Linked DNA regions of Homo sapiens: regions 1 and 2 are each linked to region 3. Evidence: promoter capture Hi-C in 16 types of primary human blood cells and fetal thymus (Javierre and others, 2016). All regions are on one chromosome and are shown on one strand. Each heading gives the region's core, a stretch centred on a gene start or on the middle of the fragment in contact. The rest is flanking DNA. Distances are from core to core; before and after follow the strand shown. Region 1 has its middle 100 kb from the start of SLC28A3-AS1. Region 2 has its middle 140 kb from the start of SLC28A3-AS1. Region 3 holds the start of IDNK (IDNK gluconokinase).

What was found. Contacts are between HindIII fragments. The CHiCAGO score rates a contact against its expected background, and 5 or more counts as called.
Region 1: a contact is called between a fragment that was not itself captured here and the fragment with the promoter of IDNK in region 3, in 6 of 17 cell types (activated CD4 T cells, total CD8 T cells, total CD4 T cells and 3 more). The highest score is 11.3, in activated CD4 T cells.
Region 2: a fragment that was not itself captured here is called in contact with the fragment with the promoter of IDNK in region 3 in 1 of 17 cell types (total CD8 T cells); the score reaches 5.2 in total CD8 T cells.

The regions. Positions count from the first base shown.
Region 1 is chr9:84,172,177-84,175,714 of GRCh38, forward strand. No RefSeq gene overlaps it. Among named protein-coding and RNA genes, the nearest start is that of SLC28A3-AS1, 100 kb to the right of the region's middle. RefSeq lists an enhancer at 803-1,312. The HindIII fragment of the contact is 1,143 bases long and covers 1,288-2,430 here.
Region 2 is chr9:84,134,823-84,138,351 of GRCh38, forward strand. No RefSeq gene overlaps it. Among named protein-coding and RNA genes, the nearest start is that of SLC28A3-AS1, 140 kb to the right of the region's middle. The HindIII fragment of the contact is 1,171 bases long and covers 1,602-2,772 here.
Region 3 is chr9:83,621,794-83,625,395 of GRCh38, forward strand. It overlaps IDNK (IDNK gluconokinase), which reads left to right and starts at 1,350. Exons shown (of 5, transcript NM_001001551.4): 1 at 1,350-1,428. The coding sequence starts at 1,379. RefSeq lists a silencer at 1,045-1,574 and enhancers at 1,755-1,884, 1,905-1,954. The HindIII fragment of the contact is 10,566 bases long and covers 1-3,602 here.

The DNA.
Region 1 (3,538 bases), core at 609-3,108, 550 kb after region 3:
AACATTAAATTCTGGGAATGCGGCAGTGAACAGAACAGCCTTGGCTTCTGCCCCTGTGGGATTTACGCTCTCAGTGGGGAAGGCAAATGTGATATAAATAATTACAAATATTAGCTAGAGCCTTTCGGCTTTATCTCATTTGTTAAGCTAATGACATCTAAACTGTTGGCTGCTAATGACTTAACATCTTATTCTTCCCAGATAACATTTCCCGCGAAAAGACTTTAGCACCTTACTTTGAGAAGAAAGGATGAAGTGGAGGGGGAGGAGTTTCAAAAGGAGATCTATTTGTGGAGGGGACGTTTTCTGACATTAAAAAATTATAATATGTAGCTAGATGCCTACTCCACCTGACCAAATTGTCCTCTTATGCTAAAAAACATTGGTTTCAGGTCCTTTGTATAGGATTGTCCAACATGCAGCATATATCCTAATGGTGGGATGCAAGATGTATTAGGTAGTTGAAGCAGATATGGTTAGTGCCCTAAGCAAACTACCTAGGCACTTGCAGTTCCTCGCTGTGCTGATGGCTTCTGTTTTTTGTTTGTTTGTTTTTTGAGACGGAGTCTCGCTCTGTCACCAGGCTGGAGTGCAGTGGCGCAATCTCGGCTCACTGCAATCTCCGCCTCCCGGGTTCAAGCGATCCTCCTACCTCAGCCTCTCGAGTAGCTGGGACTACAGGCGCCCGCCACCATGCCGAGCTAATTTTTTGTATTTTTAGTAGAGACGGGGTTTCACCATGTTGGTCAGGAAGGTCTTGATCTCTTGACCTCGTGATCCGCCCACCTCGGCCTCCCAAAGTGTTGGGATTACAGGCGTGAGCCACCGCGCCCGGCCCGGCCTGTGCTGACGGCTTCTTAACTGCAAATGTCTGTAACTCAGATTGCAGGAGCTGGCTTGCCCACCTTCACAGCGGGCCTGCAGTGGTAGGAGTTAATGGTCACATCCACGAGAGTAGCTTTCAAAGAATGACGAAGGGAAGATGGTGGGTAAAACTCTGAGGCTCATTCTCCAGCTTTCTTAGGGGGTCCGCAGGGATGCAACCCCAAAGACCGTAATGCTCCCTGGATTGACTTTCCTCTCTTCACACTTATTTCCCCGGCCCCCTAGTGGTGCTTCTTGGGAACACCTCTCAAATAGATGATTTGTACTCTAGTCCTAGTCTCAACCCAACCTAAAACAATGGCACATGGGCACATACTTTTATTTTAATGGCCATGTGTTTTAACATGTATTAGAAAAAATATAAATTGCACACCGTATCTGTGATTTCATGGATATTAGTGAAGCTTAAGTTTCAAAAGTGAGTCAATTTAAACCGAAGTGGAAAGTAATGGTATTCGGGTATTTGACAAATCACAAAGGGAGAGTGTGAATGGGGGATAATTGTATTAGAGCTTGAGGTTACCTGTAAACTGGAGCGCTTCCAGCTTTCTGGAATAAACTCAAGGACACTGGTCCTTAATTCAGTGTTCCTGAAAAGACTCCCAGGGGCTCACCAGCCCTTGAGAGATTATGCAAAGTTTTATGTATTTGGATCCTCTTCCTCCCAAAAGTTCATTTGCCTTAGTCTTAGAAAGGCATATTTCACTCAAAGTCAAGAGAGAGAGAGAGAGAGGAAAAAAAAAAGGAAGGAAGAGAGGGAGAGGGGGAGGACAGGCAGACACTCTGTTTTTCTATTTTATTAATGTAATTCAGATCTCTGTTTCTGTTGCAAAAAAGCAAAAAATAAAACAAAGGAGAGGAATGAGGAGATGGAGCCCTGATCCAAATAACAACAACAACAAAAAAAGTGTCTGTAGAATTGGGTTACTGGATGACTTCGGGGAGATGAGCTATCCATCACCACCCGCATCCTCAATAAAAAAACCTGGAAATATCTTCTGAGGATTTTTGCTTGTTAGGAAGGATGGCTATAGCCCAAGAGCAGCATCTGTATACAATGAGTGAAAAAATATTTGGTAACAAAGATCCATTAAACACCCAAATCTACCAAGTATCAGATGGCAAGATAAATGAGATTTTTGTACATGCAAAGCAAATTTTATATAAACAATAACCAAGGCAGTTCCTGTTGCTTCATAAAGCAGGACTTCTGTTAATAGCAGAAACAGCAAATACAGAAAACCAAGCCAATGCATTTTAATGCCTGATTTTGATGCATTAAAAAAATCAAGAAATTCAACAATTCACAGCCAATTGTATATTCATGCCACCCAGACTGAATTAGGATTAGAATCAGCTGTGAGCAACAGAAAATCCAAAATAATGAGTGGTGGAACAAAGATGGAAATTTATTTTTTTCATGTGAAAGTCTGAGTAAATGGTCTAGGGGCTGGTGTGATTATTCATAATACCAGGGAACATTGAATGGCTTCTCCAGTTCAAGCCATCATGTCCCCATTCCAGCCAGCAGAAAGGAGGAAAAGAAGCTTCCCTATAAGGACACTTCTGTGATGTTGCATACACCACTTCCTCTTACATTTCTTTGCCTAGAACTTAATAACTTGACCACACCTATCTGCAAGAGAGGGTAAGAAATGCAGTTATTATTCTGGGAGTTCATATGCTCAGCTAAAAATTCTCTTGCTGTGGAAGAAGAGAATAGATATTGGGTAATACCAGCAGTCTCATCTACCCAGATTTCGTACATATTGGTAGTTCTAAGTAGTTAACTTTGGCATGATACTCAACTGTAAGTCTTATTTAATGTGTCAATGAAATTGCTTGACCCTAATCACCCAGTTTTTAAAGCTGCCTCTAATTAAATCTTTTCTGACATCCACAAATAAAGCATATTTTTCATTTTGAGTATCTGTCTACTTGATGCTGGACAAAATTCGGCCCACCTAGAATAGCAGGTATAGTTTGTGGGTTATCGAAACCCTTTGTTCTCTCTCCTTTTCTGTTCAACATACTTGTGGCCACTTTCCCATTAGTTAAAGTCTGAAATAGAGAAAGAAAGATTTAAAAAAGAAATAAAGTCTAATCAGATGTTTTGTTCCTTTTCAGCAACATTTCTCCAGGGCTAAAGTAGAAGAGATTAGAAATAAGTAACATTAAGTTTTGGGATTTATCTGTCATAAAAACAGTCCTTTAGGCCAGTTGATGAGCAAAGCCCTTTTCACTGCCATCTGTAATTGTGGCTGCAGCCCTGTGAAGAAGGCAGTGTCATCTCCACTTGAGCGAAGAGATGAAACTTACCAGACAAAGCAGTTATTAAAGGGCAAAGCCAGGATTTTCACTGGGGTCTCTCTGACCCCCAAAACTCTGCTCTTTTGACTGCTCCACCCACAGAGTCCCTCCTGCCATGAGTCTTTTAAGCATCATTATCTCCAGTGGAGAGAAAGTTTTTACATGAACATTGGCTGAGACTAAAAGCAGGCCTTGGAGACATAAACAAACTGAAGAGGTTCAGAAAGTGCTCGTCAGCCTGCTCCTTGTGGTCTGTCTGCCCTCCCAGATTTTGAGTTTTGTTATTAGGAGGCACTTGATATTTACAGAGTGGCATCTGGGACTCGCAGCCCCAGGTGGAATG
Region 2 (3,529 bases), core at 937-3,436, 510 kb after region 3:
GCTGCCAGTGTGGCCAGAATAAAAGCAGGCAAAAAAATGTGGAAAGAGCAGACTGGTTTAGTCTTCTGGCCTCCATCTTTCTCCCGTGCTGGATGCTTCCTGCCCTCGAACATCGAACTCCAAGTTCTTCAGTTTTGGGACTCATACTGGCTTTCCTTGCTCCTCAGCTTGCAGATGGCCTATTGTGGGACTTCACCTTGTGATCGTGTGAGTCAATACTCCTTAATAAACTCCCCTTCATATATACATCTATCCTATTAGTTCTGTCCCTCTAGAGAACACTGACTAATACATTCCTACAAGCACTTTACTATCAAACAGGGGTCCTTCATCAGATTTCATTATGATCCTACCCATGTAGTCCTTCATTATTAACATTAATGTTTTACTGTCAATAAATACAGTTGTCAGTTATTAATTGCCTATAATGCCAAGCCTAGGGCTACAGGCTTTATGTCCTTTTTTTTTTTTTTGAGACACAGTCTCGCTCTGTCACCAGGCTGGATTGCAGTAGTGCGATCTTGGCTCACTGCAACCTCTGCCTCCCGGGTTCAAGCGATTCTCCTGCCTCAGCCTCCCGAGTAGCTGGGACTATAGGCACGCACCACCACACCCAACTAATTTTTTTGTATTTTTAGTAGAAATGGGGTTTAACCATGTTTGCCAGGATGGTCTTGATCTCTTGACCTCTTGATCTGCCCGCCTCGGCCTCCCAAAGTGCTGGGATTATAGGCGTGAGCCACGGCGCCCAGCCTTATGTGCATTTTTGATCTCATATAATTCTCACAACAGTCCTCTGAGTAAGGACAATTTTTATGGCCATTTTATAGACCTACTCAGAACGTAGTTCCCAGGTATGGCACCCAGGAATCTACTTTTGAAAGCTCCCAAATGATTCCAATGCATCTATCCATGGAACCATTGCATTGGTTGATATGGGAGAGGTGAAGATGAGATACAGATCTGTATCTAAGCACATCTCAAGATATGATACAGACATCCTGGCCACTTGGGGCTTAGAGCTCGTATGGCTATAAGTACACAAATGCCCAACAAGCATGTAAACTACTAGGATGTCAACTCTCAAAGTCCACCACTGGTGTCTGGGTGTTGTGCGGTTTGCATGGAGATGGAAGGCAGAAATGTCTGCTCTTTGGGTTGGAGAGAACTTTGGATATTAACTTCTTGGTTTGATATTTAAAACTTCTGTTGTGTCGATAGCCCCTCCAGAATAACTGTGGAAAAAGAAAAATATTTTAAAATATTCAAACCCAAATCGTCTTTGATTTAGACTTTTTCAGGTGGAGCAAAGCTTTCACATATCCTTGGGAGGAAAGAATTCAAAAACTGGATGTAAATAGAGCTGCGTTTATTGAGATAGGAGAGAGCGGATGCAGTGAATGAAATGTGTGTGCAGATAGTAATGAAGTATTTACCTATAGGAGTGTGCTGTTTGTATGTGCTCTTCCACAATTTACTTGGTACTTGAAAAATGTTGTCATGGCAACAGTATAACAAACAAGGTGGAATTGCGTACAGATGAATCACAACTTTATATGCCAGACAAAGAAGCGAATGTTCTATTAGGGCTGGGCTTATTAAGCTTAAAAGTTACAGCAAACATTTTCACGAGGTTTTCTTATTGTTTCTCATTTTAAAAAATGAGGGAGGTGCATAGACGGTAGAAGGTGTGGGATTATATTTACAGGATTTCCATAATATTACCATGGCAGAACACAGGTCGGCTGCATCAGCTTCACCTGCTGGTGTCCCAGCCTGTTTGACAGGATGGAGCTTGAGATGGTGTCTGTTCCAAGAACATATAGTTGAGGAGTTTACACACACGGGCACACGGGCACATACACACGGGTACACGTGTACACACACACACAGATGAACATGGCAAGAAGCTGTCATCTTATCTGGTGGAGAGAGCCAGGTATATAAAGCACTCCACCCAGGGGTGTGAGGCAGAGAGGGCTATGACCACACACGTGGTTCCAAGGACACTACGGTTGTACTTCCTGAAGGACAGGAACCCTTGAGGGAGCAAATTTGAGTGTCTTTTTTGATGCTTCGGGAATCTTTGAGTTCAATGAAGAGAGACACCATGGGTGGGCCACATAATCATGCAGACTCATTGGTTTGGGTTATGATTATATACAATTCTTTGCTCCAAAGTGGTCCATGTCCTGGAGCTGGAGGATGATTGTTTTGCGAGCACTTTTTGGATACAATCCCCTTCCTTGATACAGAGCTGCAAGCACTGATTGGCTGCTCTTGGCTATGAGTCTTACCTCACTGATTCTTGGACTTGAGACTGTATCTGTATCACCTGGAGAGGTTTGTTAAAACACATCTTTCTGGGACTCACTCCTAGAGTTTTAAAATTTGCATTTCTACCAAGAGTCTGGGTGAAGCTGTTGGTCTGTGGATGACACTTGGAGAGCTGCTGCTTTAGATGGAAACTCACCTGATAGAAAGGATGGGAATATTAGTCTTACAGTTTTCTTTCCCTTCCCACTAAGTGGCTAGGCAGAAATTCAGGGACCTCTCCAGTGGAGAAGGCTGGGACTTAATTGTTTGAAGTCAATTTGATAATAATAATAATAAAAAGAGATTAAGAAAATGACTGTCTTTCTTCAGATCCCAGGCAGTGCAGGAGGGACTGTTTTCTGGATTTTTCTGTGATTGAGAAATGTTAAGAATGGAGATGTAATAATGTGCTTCTCAGAGAATTAGTCCTCCACTAGCAACACTGGCATCACAGGAAGCTTATTCAAAATGCAAAATTTCGTACCCTACCCTCGATCTGAATCAGAATTACATTTAATAAGCTCCCCAGGTGATTCATACACATGTTAAAGTTGGAGAAGCACTGCTGTAAGAGACAGGCTGCCAATCTGGCAGTCAAGATACTTGAGTTTAGCCAGGTGTGGTGGTGCGTGCCTGTAGTCTCAGCTACTCGGGAGGCTCAGTTGGGAGGATTGCTTGAGCTTAGGAATTTGAGGCTGCAGTGAGCCCTGAGTGTACATGAGAATAGCCATTGCACTCCAGCCTGCCAGCATAGCCAGATCTATCTCTTTAAAAAAGAACATACCTGAGTTTTAGCCCAGGTCCTGCCTTTACCCAACTGTATAGCCCTTACTGGGCTTCGGGGGATGGGCTGGGGTGAGTTAGTGACCTACAAGTTTCTTGCTAGCTTTGGGGTGCTGCAATTCTGAATCATACCTTGGCAGGTCCTGACTTGCTCTGCCATTTCAGAAGGCTTCTGAAAAGTGTGGGCCCAAAGGTCTCTGAGGTCCTTGAGTTCCTTCCCTCTGCTGCCCCCACTTTACCCCACTGCAAGCTGGTGTGAACTCTTGCAGGAGGACAGCGCTATCTTGTGCCAAGGACATGACATCATTCCATGTACCTAAACTCAAAGGAGCCCAGTGTATAATCACTTACTATGGATGAAAGCTTGAGCAATCTGGGGAAAGTACATCCAGTCTAATAGCACTGTCTAATAACAAAGCCCTTGTCCTGA
Region 3 (3,602 bases), core at 100-2,599:
ATGAATATTAATATGATATTAACCAGCACATGGTAGATGTTCAAGAAATGTGTATTGACCATAACTGAATTGTAAGACCTCTCTCCAAGCCTCAATTTCTTCACCTGTACAGCCCCCATCCAGATTGAAATCTCACCTACTCGGGCTAAGTATATGAAAAACAAAGGCAGTGCAGGGGTAATTGAACTATTCATTAGATAAATGCTTTTATGTCACTTTTATTGTTTTCTAGGACACAGAGTAATACCTACCTTGGTTAACAAAAGACCAAAGGAGGTGATGCCAAATGCGGTTAGAAGTGCTTTTAATCACTTTGGGAGGCCGAGGCGGGTGGATCATGAGGTCAGGAGATCGAGACCATCCTGGCTAACAAGGTGAAACCCCGTCTCTACTAAAAATACAAAAAAAATTAGCCGGGCGCGGTGGCGGGCGCCTGTAGTCCCAGCTACTCGGGAGGCTGAGGCAGGAGAATGGCGTGAACCCGGGAAGCGGAGCTTGCAGTGAGCCGAGATTGCGCCACTGCAGTCCGCAGTCCCACCTGGGCGACAGAGCGAGACTCCGTCTCAAAAAAAAAAAGAAGTGCTTTTAATCAAATAGTTCAAACGACACATAATTAACATTGTTTTAAAGCAAATGGACACTTTAAAGTGGTGCTCCTTCCTCTTAAAGCCCCAACCAGTGCTGGATTTAACAGCAGAGCCATACAGCCAAGACATATGCTGCTACGGTCAACACTCAACCCTAAGTTTGACACCAAAAGATGGCCGCCATTTATTATTGTGACAAAAGGCCAGATTACAAAACGCTGTGTACGGCCTGATCCCAGTTTTACAAAATACTCATACCCATCTATCTACGACGGGGCGCGGGGAAAGGGGAGTCGTTTTAGGAAGTGCTGCTTATTGCTGCCTGGTGTGGGAAATTATGAGTCTTATTTTCTGTTTATTCTTTTTACAAGAACATTTTTATAAATGAATGAATGAATGCTTTCCATGGGTGGATGAGGATCCGGCCTGCCAGGGTGAGGATCCTCTGGAACCAAGAGGGGCCGGGGCAGTAGAACGACAGGTGGCGGGGCTTTGGGCGGCTCCCTCCAGCCCAGGGAGACGCGAGTGCCAGGCCGGGCGCGCGCTTCACTTCCGGGAAGAGGAAAGAGGGAGGGGAGGGGAGAGGAAAAGAAGGGGCAGGAGAGAGAGGCCGGGAGGTTGGGAAAGGGAGGAGGAAAGCATGGAAAAGGGGCGCGGGAAAACGGGGAGGGCGCAGAGGGGCACGGCCCTCACTGCCCCGGCCGGGGCGAGAGCGGCTCCGCCCCTCGAGCGCCGGGTAGGCCGGGGCCGGCGGGGCCCGGAAGGCGACGGGAAGGAGCCGAGCTTGGGTTATGGCGGCGCCGGGCGCGCTGCTGGTGATGGGCGTGAGCGGCTCGGGGAAGTAGGTCCGGGAGAGGGCGGGGGGCGCCCGGGACAAGTGTTGCGGGCGCGGCGGAGGCCGGACGCGTCGCCGTCCCTGCCGGTGGACTGGGGTCTTGGGGACCCCCCACCCTTCCCTTTGCAGATGAAGAAACCGAGGCCCGCGGCTGCCGCGCCCTCTCCCCGCCCTCCAGCCTGCTCGCGGGGCGCCCATCCTGGGACCGCATCCGAGCTCCGGGTTCCCGCTCTAAGACGGGGAGGCTGCGGCGACCGCAGGCTCAGGGAGGAAGCCGCTCCTGAACAGGCGGCTGCGGGGCCGCGCAGGTGGAGGCCTAGCGAGCGGCGCGGGGCTAGGTTTCGGGGCGCCTTGTCGGGGCCAGGCGGGAGGGCGCACGGCCTCTAGCGAGAGGACGCAAACCACGGCCCAGGCTCTCACAGACCTTTGGCCATCTGGACACACAGCGGCCTCCTCCTATGAGGCCCTGGACTTCTCCGATTCAATTTTGGAAAGTGAATCGTTTTCCCCTTCCTTTCATCAGCTTAACCTGGAAGGAGACAGCGTTAATATGGAGGGTGGCTCCTGAGGGTTTGGAAAGAAAGAAGAGAATTGTGGAAACCACAGAGGTAGCCCAGTGTGCTAACCTGGAGACTGAGGAGTTAACATTTGGCTTCCTGTTTAAACCAAAGTCTAACTGTGCCCTTTATCAGAAAAGACAGCTGCTGTACCATTCGACCACAGGCAGCAAAGGACAGAACTTGATCAGCTAAAACATCATAACCTTCAAGGGCCTATAGGACCCTTCTAGAATTTTCTGAATCAGGAACGGCCCATGTTGTGGCCTGTGTAGTCAGGTGTATATTAAAGATTTACTCCAGGTAGATGGGTTTTGCTTTCCAAAATTATTGTAGGGTTCTCAGCCACAAAGATAAAAAGAAATCTTGAACTGCAATTGAAATAAAACATGGAGCCCCCAAATCCCTAGCTGCCATATGATTTGAATCAGTTGGAGAATGTAAAATCATTGCCATGGTGTGATGTAACAGGAGTGAAGAGCCCTAGGTCTTGGTTCTGTTGCTGTCTGGCTGTGTGAGCCTGGGCAGTTCATGTACCCCCTCTGAGTCTTGAATCAGATGAGGGAGGCCTAATCCCTATGATGTATAGCTTGTGATATTCATGTACTCAGTAATTATTGAGCTCAATCCTTACTCTATGTCATTGTCATATAGCGAACAGGACAGATAAAATCCCTGCCCTCAAAGGATTTACATTCTGGTATGGGAGACAGAGTAAATGAATATATGTAGTGTGTGAGTTGGTGATAGATGCTCTGGAGTAAGGGGAACAAAGAGTGCCAGGCAGAGTGGTCAGGGATGTCTCCTCTGGGGGAGTGGCGTTTCAGCAAAGACCTGCAAGACTTGAGGAACCTGCCATGTGGATAGCTGAGGAAAGGGCAGGACAGGCAGAGGGAATGGCAGGTGCAATGGTTCTGAGGCTTAGCTTCTTTTGTTTTTTTTTTGTTTTGTTTTGTTTGAGGCGGAGCTTCACTCCTGTTGCCCAGGCTGGAGTGCAGTGGTGCAATCTTGGCTCAATGCAACCTCCTCCTCCCGGGTTCAAGCAATTCTCCTGCCTCAGGCTCCTAAGTAGCTGGGATTATAGGCGCCCACCACCATGCACAGCTAATTTTTTGTATTTTTAGTAGAGACGGGGTTTCATCATGTTGGCGAGGCTGGTCTCAAACTCCTGACCTCAGGTGATCCATGCGTCTCAGCCTCCCAAAGTGCAGGGATTACAGGCGTGAGCCACCGCGCCCAGCTAAGGCTTGGCTTCTTTAAGGAGCAGGAAGGAACCCATTGTGGCTGAGTGAGGGGAAGCATGATGGGAGATGAAGTCAGAAACAATGCAGGTAAAGAGAATGTGGTCATATGCTGGCAATATTTTGAAGGTAGAGTCAGAAAGATGTGTTTGTGGACTGGATGTTGGGTGTAAGAAGACAAGAGAGAAGTCAAGGATGATTCAAGATTTTAGGCCTGAGTAATTGGAAGGAGGGAGTCGCCACAAACTGATTTGGGGAAGCAGTAGATAGAGCAGATTTGGAAGACAACCTCAGAAGCTCAGTGTGGGATATGGTGACTTGGACGAGCCAATTAGTCATCCAGTGGATGGTGGTTGGATGTCCAAGTCTGAAGTTCAGAGGA